Regions from separate parts of the Homo sapiens genome. Here all the other regions are linked to region 3. Evidence: promoter capture Hi-C in 16 types of primary human blood cells and fetal thymus (Javierre and others, 2016). All regions are on one chromosome and are shown on one strand. Each heading gives the region's core, a stretch centred on a gene start or on the middle of the fragment in contact. The rest is flanking DNA. Distances are from core to core; before and after follow the strand shown.

Region 1 (4,429 bases), core at 581-3,080, 510 kb after region 3:
TAAGATATGTGTTATGTTAAATGACGATAAGTACAATGAAGAAAAAGAAAGTAAGGAAGGGAGATTGAGAATGCCAGAAGTGATGTGTGATCGAATTTGAATTAGGGTGGTCAAAGAAAGTTTCACAGAGAAAGGGACAATGAGGAAAACCTGTAAAAGGTTTCTGGTGTCAGCCATGCAAAAATCTGGAGAAAGAGATTCTTGGCAGAGGTCACAGCCAGAACAAAGATCTTGATTCAGGAGTGCGTTTGGTGTGTTCTAGGAAAAGAAGTCTAGTGTGGCTGGAGGGAAGTGAGTGAGGGGAAGAGAGGTAGAAGATGAGGTTAGAGAGTTCATGGGGTTAGTGACACCAGATTAGCAAGTTGCTTAGGGCCTTGTAGGCCATTGTAAGGATTAGGACTTTTAATTTGAGTGAGACAAAAAGACATTGGATGGGTTTAAGCAGAGGAGTGGTGTGATCTGAATTAAAAGGGATCACACTGGCTGTTGTGGGGAGGATAAATTATAGAGTAGCAAGCATGGAAAAAGGGAGGCTATGTCAGGGGTTGGGGAAGTATTATTTGTTTGAGTGTTCTTGAACTCTCCTGTTCTCTCACCTTGTTGGGTTAGGGGGAGGGGTGGGGTGGTTTGTGACCTAGGACTTTGTGCCTTTTGAAAAAGGGAAGTAACTAACACGTGACAGTGTGTGTAACATTTGCAGATGTGGCTTCTCTGGATCAAGAGCCAAACAAACCTGCCATAGCAATTTGAATTTCTTCCTCTTAAGCCTCTTATTCCACTTCAGATCCCCCTCCTGACCTATTCTTTGGGGATTCTTAGATACATTTCCATCCCCCATAGTGACCTAGGTCTCTTATCCAGCTTTATTTCCTGCTTTTGACAGAGGAAAAAGATAGACTTCTGAATTGATGTGAGTGGAGATCTTATTATAGTAGCCACCTATAAAATAGCAGGAGGTAGAGATGTTTAATGTGTAAAATGGTTGTTGTCCTGGAAAAAAATCAATACCATAAATGTGAATTTAATGGGATCCCTCAGGGAATGGGAGTCTGGGCAATGTAACATTTTAGTTAATTGAAAGGTAACCCACTTCTCACCTTTGTTTTTTTCCCTCTTTTCTTTAAATTAGCTCTTGTTTCTGAGTGTGACAATCAAAGTGTTTACTGTGTGCATGTAATGTGCCAGGCACTGTGCTAGGTGTTTTACACACAGAACCTTATGCAATCCCTGTAACAACTGATGATGTAGATGTTTTCTTTATTCCCATTTTAAAGTTGAGGAAACCGAGGCTTGGAGAAATTAAACCGCTCACCTGAGGTGTCTTAGCTGATAAATGCCCAAGCTAGTCTGTCTGATGCTGAGACGCAACCTCAGTGATCAGTGTCTTGCTCATCATGGACTCTATTGTGTTTAATTTCTGGACTTCAGACAGGGCTTTAGCATTATCCTGCTAGCCATCTTGGAAGACTGTTCTAGGTTAGAAATGGAGGCAGAGAGAGAGGGTCAGGAGCCTGGGCTATGTGATGGCAGCCTTGGGAATGGGGTCCATTTACTGTTATTACTTTTTAAAGTAAAAGTTTTAATATCAACCTGTTTTCTTGTTACTAGGTTCTTCTAATGGACTGCAGAAGAGCAGTGTTTAGTTAACTGATAACAGTGTTATGATGTTACTTTAAGCATCGAAGCTCCTTAATTTGGTATGCCCAGTTTTTATTTTTGGTGGGGGACAGGGTGCAAGGAAATCAATCGGAATTAGCTGTAAATCTGAAATCCAGACTGTTTTAAATAAGTGCAGTCTCGTTTCATTTTTTTCAGTCACATTTAGTAACATAATCTAATGCTAACAAAGTGTCAAAGTGAGGCCTATTTTAATAAATACATTAAAAAAGTCATTCACTGTTCTATGCAAATGAGTTCTTTCATAGTTTAAAAATGAGCCTACTCATTTGCTTAACAAAGCTGATTTTCCCAGATCAATGCACAATACCTTGATCTCAGCCCTGGTCTGAATTACTGCAAAATTTGAATGAGAAGTTCTGCGCTAGATAGTTTTTGTCTGCCTCTTCAGGTCCTCACTCCAGTCTTCCCTCCTGCACTCTACCCTGGGAAGCTGACCTGTAGGGATGACATCAAAAGTCTCCCTTTTCTTAGTCAGGCTATGATGGTAAAGGCATCTCCAAATCCTCTTCCTAGCCCTGAGTTACCCTGCCTACACCTTTATAAATAGTCCATTTATTAATATTGACCCTTACCCCTCTCCAAAATAGCCATTTTGAGTGTGCCATCTATTTCCTGCTGGGACACTGATTGATACAGGTTTTGAATTATGTCTATATCTTTATTTCATGTACAGGTCTGAGACTGTATATGAGGGTAATATGACCATAGTTCTAATTTGAATGTACAGAGCACCATACAAGTCCGGTGGTTTACTGGGGAGTGTCTAGGAACACAAAGGAAAAAGGAACAATCACAGACCTGTCCATCAGATTCCTGTGATGTGGGTTTCAATAATCTGAGTATAGATGGATAGATAATGACTGGGCAAAAGAAAGGACTAGAGTAAGGAGCGATATTGACTTGTCTGGATTTTTTACTTTCCTATCAAGATCCTCTGACTGGCATTGGATCTTGGGGATGGGGTTAAGGCAGGAGACCCCTATGGACTGGATTTAATGCCTACAACTCGTCCAAGGAGGAGGGTAGAAACACCTGGTACAGGTAAGAGGCTTAGGAAAGGAGTATGAGTCAAGAATATAACAACGTGACCCAGGAAAAAAACCAGATTATAAACTCTTTGAGGGAAGACATTTTGACTATCTTGCTTGATGCTATTCTCTAATTAGTACCCAGCCAATAGACTGGCAAATAGTAGGCATTCTATAAATATTTGAGTGAATAAATGAATGCAGGAAGACAGAAGAACATACAGACTTAATGCACAATGAAATTACAGGACTTCCCTAGGGAGAATCCCAGCCCAGGTATCAGGGCCAATGTTTAGGAATGAGAGTGATAATTTATTTCCCATGGATAGAAAAGCCCCAGCTGTGCACTGCACATAATCCTTTGGGCAAATTAGATTATTAGAATCAAGGACTAAAACCAGTGGTCAGTTTGCCCACTGCCAATTTTAAACAGAGAAGACTTTGAGCAAATGGGGATCTAATTTGAGGAAGGTTTTCTTGGTGCTTAAGTAGCTGTTTGAAAACATGGGGCTTTTTTTTTCTACTGAAAAAAAGTGCTCATATGGCCTCTGCTGTGTTCTGAATATTTGTGTTCCCGCAACAATTCATGTGTTGAAACCTAACTTCCATTGTGATAATATTAAGAGGAGGGCTTTTGGAAGGAGATTCATCCCATTCATGAAGGGATTAAGTGCCCTTATAAAAGAAACCCCAGAGAGCTAGCTAGTCTCTTACACCATGTGAGGACACAGCAAGAAGGTGCCATCTTTGAAGCAGAGAATGAGCCCTCACCAGACACTGGATCTGCTGGCACCTTGATCTTTGACTTCCCAGCCTCTGGAACTATGAGAAATAAATTTCTGTTCATAAGGTACCCATTTAATGGTATTTTGTTATAGCAGCCTTAATAGCCCAAGACAGCCTCTTTTCCTAGAAACACATAGAATATTATTTTCAGGCATTCTTGTCAAAGATAACAATAGAAGATCTAGTAGTGAATCAGCACATTATAGTTCTGTTGATGCTTCTGTTGCCAAGGCCAGTTGTTTTACTTAAGAATACAATGTGCAAGTAAGATGTTTTGGGGTTTTAAAAGTGAGTATGTGACGAGAGGATCTTCGCCTTAGCATTTTTCCTTCTACAGGCCTCTTGAAGACTTCCACCTGGTAATGATTGGCGGGAGGGGGGCACCTAAAGTCACACTCTGTGCTTTACATTAAGAAGGCAGTTTATAGTACTGGAGGACTGGATGTTTTGGATGCATCAGATAATTTATCTAGGAAGCCTTTTCAAATTCACAGGTATCACTATCTGTCTGTGCTCCCCCACCTCCGTGTTAATCAGAATCAGTTGGGAACACCAATTTAAACTGCATCAGTTTGGACCAGACTTCCCCCTTCCAAAGATCTGAAATGGGTGGTTTGACTGAATTTCAAGAAGCATGAACAATGGTTTGGAAGAAATGGAGTCAGTGAAGTTTAATGAGTCAACCAATGGTAACGAATTATGGTGATTCTAAGTGAATGCCCTCCTTTCTTCCCAACTGGCTGAACTTACAACATTTCAGGTCAGCCTTGGTGACTAGAGCCATTGAGAGAGAGCATCTTCATAGCCCTTATGAGCACCAGCTGACAAAAAAGAGGTCATGTCTTTCTTTTACACAATTTTAATGTAATCCTCACCAGCATTAGCGAAAATTGCTTTTTGGTGGCCAGAGGGAAGCAAAGAGCCCTTGACTATCT
Region 2 (4,092 bases), core at 1,593-4,092, 310 kb after region 3:
CAGGGTATATTAGTGAGGTGGTACAGGAGTAAAAGTGCAATGAACTAGAAATCCAGCATCTCAGTTTGAGTTGCCCCTGCTCTGCCAATATGTGACTCTGGGCAGGTTATTCAACTTCTCTGAGACTCAGTCTCCTCATCAATAAAGTGGGGATAGGCCAGGCGCGGTGGCTCACACCTGTAATCCCAGCACCTTGGGAGGTGGAGGCGGGTGGATCACTTGAGGTCAGGAGTTCGAGATCAGCCCGGCCAACATGGTGAAACCCTGTCTCTACTAAAAATACAAAAACTAGCAGGGCGTGGTGGCAGGCGCCTGTAATTCCACCTACTTGGGAAGCTGAGGCAAGAGGATCACTTGAGCCCGGGAGGTGGAGGTTGCAGTGAGCCGAGATCACGCCACTGCACTCCAGCCTGAGTGACATAGCAAGACTCCATCTCAAAAAAAAAAAAAAAAAAAAGTGGGGATAGTAACTACTACCCTACGTACCCCAGAAAGGGTTTCCATAATGCTTATATGAGATAATACGAGATGAATCCCCTTTGCAGGCTGTCATGGACACCACAAAGAAAAAATATTGGACCACATGCTCTCTTAAGGCCTTTCCAAGTCAGTTTCATATTTTGGCTTTTATTGTTGTACATTTTAAGAGACGCATATATAATACGCCAAAAGAGCCATATGAAATGGGCTTATTCTTAAGTAATAGCTTAGTACTACAACTACTAGCCGACATTTGCATAGCATTATAATGCTTATAATGTTACACGGCATTATTACTATGTGTTGTGCACTGATTTGAGTATTTTGCGTGTACTAATTTTCACAGCAACAGAAACTGGTGATCTCAATTGTCATACTACAAGTGAAGAAGCTATAATGTGGCTTGTAAAAAAGTTTGACTCGTGATACCATCTTATATTTGTAAGATTATAGTGCCTGGAGGCGTTTTCCACAAATATCTTATTTGATTCTTATCAGCAACCTTGTGAGACAGGTAGGGCAAACTATTATTTCCTCTACTTTAGAGAGGAGGAAATTTAAATTGAGAGTGACGGCTGGGTTTGGTAGCTCATGCCTGTAATCTCAGCACCTTGGGAGGTTGAGGTGACAAGACTGCTGTAGCCCTGGAGTTCAAGACCAGCCTGGGCAACATAGCAAGACCCCTATCTCTTAAAAAAACAGGAAAAAAAACTGAGAGGGCTTTAGTACCTGGCCCAAGATTATGAGGGTAACAGCAGTCAAAACTAGATCCCAAACCCATCTTCTGACTCCTAATCCAGGTTTACCCATCACCATACTAGCTCTGCAACTAAAATATACAAATACTGATAAATAAAACCAACATAATTTCTTACAAGGTACTCATCAATACAAAAATTCAAGCTATTGTACTCTGAAGTATATATATATTTTTTTTTTTTTTTGAGATGGAGTTTCACTCTTGTTGCCCAGGCTGGAGTGCAATGGTGCAATCTCGGCTCACCGCAACCTCTACCTCCTGGGTTCAAGCGATTCTCCTGCCTCAGCCTCCTGAGTAGCTGGGATTACAGGCATGCACCACATTGCCTGGCTAATTTTGTATTTTTAGTAGAGACGGGGTTTCTCCATGTTGGTCAGGCTGGTCTCGAACTCCTGACCTCAGGTGATCTGCCAGCCTTGGCCTCCCAAAGTGCTGGGATTACAGGTGTGAGCCACCGTGCCCGGCCTGAAGTATCTTTTAACACCAAATCCCTGACACTCTAATGAAAGTAACTTCTTGAATTGGTTGTGTGTCAAATACACAGTAGGGAAAAATTTCTTGGTAGCAAGGGATTGCCCTTAGGAACTGCCCTTAAAATTATATTTAAGTGTAAGGACCCATTTGCTAAGTAAAGAATCTGAACCTCAGACTAAGCTGCTGGACTACAAACTGCTACTCATTTCTGGGCTAAGGTGCGTCTTGTAGCCCAGGTATTAGAAAAATGTAAAGAGCAAGAAAAAGAAATGGCAAAGTCTACTATTAAGAAGGAGGTAGAATAAAGGATATGAATAATATCTGCATGTCTTGAGGCCTTTCCTATGGGTAGGTAACACAACTAAGAAACAATTATCACAATAGAATGACATGTCACCAGAAATCATCTTTGGGATTCATGCTATAGGATTACATTATAGGTAGAACTTCTATTACACCAAGGTACACGTAACTGTAATTTCTTATCAGGAGGGTCAAATATAAGCACAACTTATACTGGTATGACTGTACCCATGGTTTATGTGAGAATACGTGGTCTAATTATAGAGTTCATCAATTAATGGAGAAACTAAAATTAGAAGGGAACCAAAAGTCTACTTAAGAACCTATTTCAGAAAGCAAAATCCATATACATCCCACCTCAATTTATGTTAATCAAATCTGGTTATGCATATTAATACATACCTGGTAGAGTTCTTCTAAATTGTACTTAATTGAAGTACTATTCTGAATAGCTTCCACTGCTTCTTTCAGTTTTTGCCAGGTTTCATCTGTGTAGTTTTCTGGTAATTTAGGCTTATCTAGATGATATGTAAAAGGTTGGCATCAGAATACCATGTCAGATACAGTAACCAAAGATTCATAAAATATAATAGCATTACTAATTTTAGGGTAAATTGTGATCTTTATAACTATTACACCTAATCATTAAAGTAACCACTGTATTTAAGCTTAATATAAAGAATAAAATTTGAAATGCCATAATACTGTTTAAGTCATTTTGACTCACCTATTAAAATTGAAGGTGAGGTTTTTCTCCTATTGATTGTATTGCTTCAAAAAAATAAAAATTCAAGAATGACCATAAAAAATAACAATCCTGATCTTATTTCATCATGTGTAAAACCTAAGTCGACATGAATTTTTAACCTGAGATTTAAAGTACTGTCTATGTGCAAGGTACTTTATAAGCCTCTTAATCTTCCCAACAATACCCTGAGGAATCTATTTTACAACCGAGGAAACTGAGGCTGGAACTCATTTAGTAAGCTTGCCCAAGGTCATCATAGCTAGTCAATGGCAAAGCTGGGATTCTAATTCAGGTCTGTTTGACCCCCACATTTATGCAGCATCTATAGAAATGGAAACATCTTAACTCAGGTTTTAAACTACATTTACGAGCAGAGTGAAATTTTTAAAGACTGAAAGAAATGACTCCAGAAACCATGTTGCATTTTCAGAATAGAAAGAAACATCTTACTCTAGGCTTTAAACTTCACTGACTAGCAATGAGTGTGGGGAAAAAAGTTTTAATTAGAATATCCAAATGCCTTAATAATATGCTTTTATTTTAGGAGGGAGAGAAAAAAATCTCTGAAACCAATTTGAAAATGCAACCAGGATCATAACTCATTTAAAAATCTTTAGCTACAAAATCCATATATTTTTAAGTGAAATAATGAAAACGTTACTCAATTACAATTCATATTGACTTCAGAAAGCTCTACTATTAAATCAGAAACTGAGAGCCTGGGTATGGGAAGGTAGTGATATAAAAAAGAAAGGGTTAAAAATAGACAACACCATAGCCCTCTGCTTGAGACAAAATAGAGCATACTCCTGATTTCCACACAATGTTAAAAACACAAGCATAGAGAACCTAATCTTCTCAATACTAATATTCAGCCACAAAGCACTTATCTCATAAATATTACTTAAGTTCATTCATTTACTTCTCTATTTAATAAACACTGTAGCACTGATTACCTGGCAGTTACGGGTGTTGAAAAAGTAAGTCAGAAAAACAGAAACACATTCAACAAATAAAAATTAATTCAGCTCAAATACATTTTTAAAAATTGCTGATTTTATATTTGCCTCAATGTATTCATAATACTCTCCTCACATATCTCAAACACGGTCTGAACAAATTTTCCTAAAAGCTGCAGGTCGATACTTTAAAATCCATTTTAGTGATGGAAAAAATAGATGTAGTAATTGTTCCTATCTTTAGACTAGTGGTACACAGAGTTACTACTTCTGTGTATACACAATGTTTTTCACTTTCAAACCCTACCTTTGGAAAGAAATGCAGAGAACATAAATTTTTCTTCAAATATTCCTTCCAAATGAGTTTC
Region 3 (4,584 bases), core at 1,436-3,935:
TGACCTTACCAAATCTGTAACCATAAGCATAACATATAGGAAGTGCTCTAAGACTGAACGAGTGTCACTTTATCTTTTGTCATCAATTAATATATATTAAGCACCCACAAGATTGTTGGCATTTTAACACAGGAGAGGACAGTTACCGCCCTCATGGAATTCACAATCAAGGTCAAAAGGCAAGCAAACGCTGACAATACGGCTATAAAACCTAACTCATCCCATTTTCAGCCAATAAAACCTTTCTAGAATGTGAAACAATTGATACCTCCAAATCCATTTGATATAGGTTGTTCTCTGACCTCAGGTGATCCTCCCACCTCGGCCTCCCAAAGTGAGTTGTTGTTGTTTGAAATAGAGTTCAAACTACTGGGTTGTTTGAAGTAGGGTTAAGCCCTCCAGATTAAAAACAAAAGTAAAAGTGAAATGACTAGTTGAGAAACAGAAAATTAATTAAACTTTCCAGTGATCCTGTCCCAAAGACAATTATTAAGGCCACTCAGGCTTCTTGGTCTGTTCTGCTTTCCTACAAATAAAATTCCTTTCCTGACCATTGGACCCCCTTTCATTATAGGTAGCTTTTAAACTTGTTTAGTTTTTGCTTGGTTAGGGGGTGAGAGATACAGCAAGAAGGGAAGAGAAGGTTTACTGTGCTTTGAATGAACAGGTTTCATCATATGTTAGTTGGTACTCCAAACTTTTAAAATACTTTCAGGAAAGTGACAATGGCATGGCAATTCTGTTGCCAGCCTCAGTGATGTAAATGCTGGTACAAAATAAATTGCATTGTGCCTTCCAGTTTACTGAGAGCTGACCAACAAACATGATATCTAGAGTGGCATCTATTGCCACTGTGATCTGTATTTCAAAGATATGTCTCATTTTAGTTTTCATCAATTAAGCCACTGAAAGATAAATAGATCCTAAACTTTCAAGATATACTTTGTTCTAATTACTAAGATTTTTTTTTTTACTACTAAGTTTTGGGGAGGATAACTCAGAAAAATGGTTATTAAGTACTCAGTTGCCAGGAAAAATACTAATCTGCCTTAGTTTATTTTACAACAGCATACTTCTATTTGCCATGAAATATCTTTATAGTAAACAATGAAACTTTTCATAATGCTAAGTCCTAATCAAAAATCAATAATGCAATAATTCCCACATAGTTTGTTTTCCCACAATACAAAATCTTGGAGAAGAGCTTAAGGAATTGCATATTTCCATGTGAAATACAGCTATATTATACCACTTTGATGTTTTATTATACCATGTGGCTTTACTTTATTGAGGAGGATGAAGAATAGATTAGGGATAGGTAGATGAGATGATGACATCCATGTCTGATTTCCTGTCAGAGAAAATTAGATATAGTTACATCTGTTTTCAGTCTAATATCCTGATGGACATTTTCAGCAAGATTTTTTAGGAAAGAAGCACAGGAATTCCACTGCAAGGTATTAATAGGTACAAATTTAAGATTTTGGAAATGAATGCAGTATTATCCTATATATATCTTTTTAAAAAGATAATGAAGGTAGTGAATGGCCTTAATTATGGCAGAAAAAAAGTTACTATTTGGTTCCTTAGTTGAATACGATCAATAACCAGCCTAAAAGGGAAACATTTTGCTCTCCAAACACCCATCCTGTTGCTTCATTTATTATGGTACTCAGTTGGAAGGGTATTACCAGAGGATTTTAAAAAATTATGTAACTCACAATGTATTTTTTCGGTCATTAAACAATCACTGAACACATACTATGTGTCAGACACTAAAGCCCTCTGAAGATGAAATGTTATGGAAATAGTAATAATAAAAAATTAAAATAGTAACAATAAAAAATTAAAAATGCAAGTGTTAATATTATTAATCTTTCAAGATACAGGTCAAATGACAGCATTCAATTTGCTATTCTCTTCTCTCTGCTTCTACACCTTGTACAAATATTTTTGTCCATGTTTGTGTACCTACCTACTGAGCTCCCTAAAGAGGTAGAGACCTTTGGGTTATTCATTTTTGTATTCCCGAGAGCCTAACATAGGGTTTTTGCTACAGATCAAGCAGGGGGTCAGTAAATGCTAGTTGGAATGAGGGAATTAACATAGTACTGCACCATTTAGTATTCAATTAAGAAGATAGTTGTCCAAACACTAAATTTCTTTCTTAAAAGTAGTTACTGTAATGTAGTTGCTCTCTTGTTATCCCAGAACTTGAATTACCATAAGAAGTTGTGAATTTCTATTTGATTGTATGTATTTTGATTATATTTCAAGATGGTTTATCATCTAGCAAACAGTCTAATAGAGCAGATTCAAACTTGCAAAATAAATGAAACCTGTATAGTCTCTAAAAGTTTGTATGCCCTAGAAGTTCACATTGAATTTCGATGAAAACGACTCGCTTCCCTTCCATCCAATTGCTTGCGACTGTCTTACCCGATCTTTCCCTTTCCTTTTTTCCCACCCGTTAGCCCTCCGGAAAGAGCCGAACACACAAGAGCTTCCCAGTCTTCCTCCGCCCCCTTGCGGAAAGAACCGAAGGCAGAGCACGGCGCCGAAGTGGAGCCGCCTCAAGCTCGGGCCCTTCCGGACCACCCCGGCCTGCGCTCGGAAGAGGAGGGCGCCTTTGGCTTCAGCGCTTCGCCCCCGCGCTGTGCCCTCTGTCGGCGGCGTGGGGCAGCTGTAGCAGCGTTGGCGGCAGGAGGCGGCGGCCGCGTCGACGTCGACCCAGACTGGAGCGACGTTTAAAGAAGGGGCAGAATCGCTGGGGAGTGCGGCTTCTTCTTGTTGGGGGACTCCCAGCCTTCCGCGCGTCCGGAGGAGGAGAAGCGGCGGCGCCGGGAAGCAGGTGAGGACCCGGCCCCAATCAGGGAGGGGGCGAAGGAGCGCGCTTGCCTTCTCCGTCCCTGGGCCGCGCCTGCGTTTGCATTCGCCTCACTTGAACCAGGAAGCGGCAGAGTCGGAGGCTCAGCTCCTCCGGCTCTTTCTTTGTGTGGGCCGGGGAGCGAAGGAGGGGACGAGCCGCGAGGGCCGCGGCGCGGTCCCCTTCGCCGTTAGGGGCCGAGGGGCTGCCGGTGCCCTGGGTAGGCCCCGGGGCTTGGGGAATCCATCACAGAGACCCACTTGGCTTTTCCCTCGCCCCTCTCGCTGCTTTTTTGTGCCTCTTTTACTCCCCTAGCCCCTACTTTGATTTAGAGCTTTTCTGCCAGGCCCATCCTCCCCTTCCGTCCCCTTCCCGGGGCACAACAATGCCGCCTGCTTCGCTTCATCCCCCCCCCAACACCCCACCCTGCCGTTCGCCACCTTCTACTTTCCCTGGTACCCCATATTCCTCCCGCCCTCACTCTGCTGTTTGTACCTCCGTCTGTATTTGCAAGAAGCTTGCTTTGCACGTGAATTGGGGTTAAAAACCTCGGTTGCAGCTGGCAGGGTCCATATGGGGAAGAGGGAGGTGGAGGAAGGGAGATGAGGTTCAGCTGCCGCAGGGAGCCGCGTGTCGGTTTGTTTCACTCCCTCGCGGATGGCTTTTATCTCTTTCCACCGTCACCAGCTCCTCCGAACTGGCCCTCGGTCAAGGGTTTCACAGTGATGTGGAATGGCTTTTCCACAGTCGAATCGCATATCTTCGGAGTGGGTTCAGACCGACTTGTGCTGTCTCTGGGGCCACCCTGAGTGGGAGGAGGGGGACACATAAACGAAACGAAACCGAGTCCCAGTGTCACCTGGACACGTACATTTGACGCATTCCCATATTGGAAGAACCCGGGAGCAAATGACAAAAATTGCGTGCCGTTTTCAGAAAACCTGTCTTTCCACTTAATATCGACTTCTGTCGAAATGCCCGTATTTCGGAAGCCCTGGTTTTTGGCAAACTGTCCAAAGGTCACCCTTTCTGATGATGAATGCCTTTATGGTAACCTGGAATTCCTTGGTACTGTTAACATGCAACACCTTCTAATAATGTTTTAAATCTTGATTTTTAGACTTTTTGCCTGCTGTTTGTTCTTAAGGTATCATTTTGAAAAATTTAGAAGGTATTTGAGACAGAACTGCCCTCCACCTGTATATAACTTAAGCATTGTGACATCGACACCCTTTTGGTAACTTCAAAGGGAGAGAATATTAATAAAAATATTTCTTCACTAAAAGTACTTGTCAACTAATTGTTAATATATAATATCCATATATTAAAATATATCCATATATAATATGTATGGATATTATATATTTTTAATATATGGGTTTTTTTAAACTCTGGCCTCTTTGTTACTGGAAATATCTTCTGCAAAGTGCAAAAAATGATGTTTTGCTAGTGCTACACAACAATGCATTCTACTGACATCATCCCCTTTTTCTAGAGTAGTCTATTCCAATAAGTTAATGTTTTCATTTTCACTAACTCATTTGGTGTGGAAAAAATTCTCATACCAATGCATATGATTCTTTACCAACAAAAATAAAATGTTTCGTGTTTTCTTGGAAGTGGGCATTTAGAAATGGTAAACTTTCCTTTTCCTTTGTCATATTTTTTCATGATAGTGTCTGTTGACTTCACTTGGCACTGTTTAACATTCCACCTCT

Evidence for each region. Contacts are between HindIII fragments. The CHiCAGO score rates a contact against its expected background, and 5 or more counts as called.
Region 1: a contact is called between a fragment that was not itself captured here and the fragment with the promoter of ZBTB33 in region 3, in 1 of 17 cell types (fetal thymus). The highest score is 9.7, in fetal thymus.
Region 2: a fragment that was not itself captured here is called in contact with the fragment with the promoter of ZBTB33 in region 3 in 1 of 17 cell types (total CD8 T cells); the score reaches 5.6 in total CD8 T cells.

Annotation. Positions count from the first base shown.
Region 1 is chrX:120,754,646-120,759,074 of GRCh38, forward strand. No RefSeq gene overlaps it. Among named protein-coding and RNA genes, the nearest start is that of CT47B1, 120 kb to the right of the region's middle. RefSeq lists an enhancer at 445-524. The HindIII fragment of the contact is 6,950 bases long and covers 1-4,429 here.
Region 2 is chrX:120,555,505-120,559,596 of GRCh38, forward strand. It overlaps CUL4B (cullin 4B), which reads right to left. Exons shown (of 20, transcript NM_001079872.2): 2 at 2,420-2,535. Among named protein-coding and RNA genes, the nearest start is that of CUL4B, 3.4 kb to the right of the region's middle. The HindIII fragment of the contact is 319 bases long and covers 2,684-3,002 here.
Region 3 is chrX:120,248,127-120,252,710 of GRCh38, forward strand. It overlaps ZBTB33 (zinc finger and BTB domain containing 33), which reads left to right and starts at 2,686. Exons shown (of 3, transcript NM_001184742.2): 1 at 2,686-2,851; 2 at 4,543-4,584. It also overlaps a transcript of TMEM255A not described here. RefSeq lists an enhancer at 2,393-3,231. The HindIII fragment of the contact is 5,064 bases long and covers 1-3,381 here.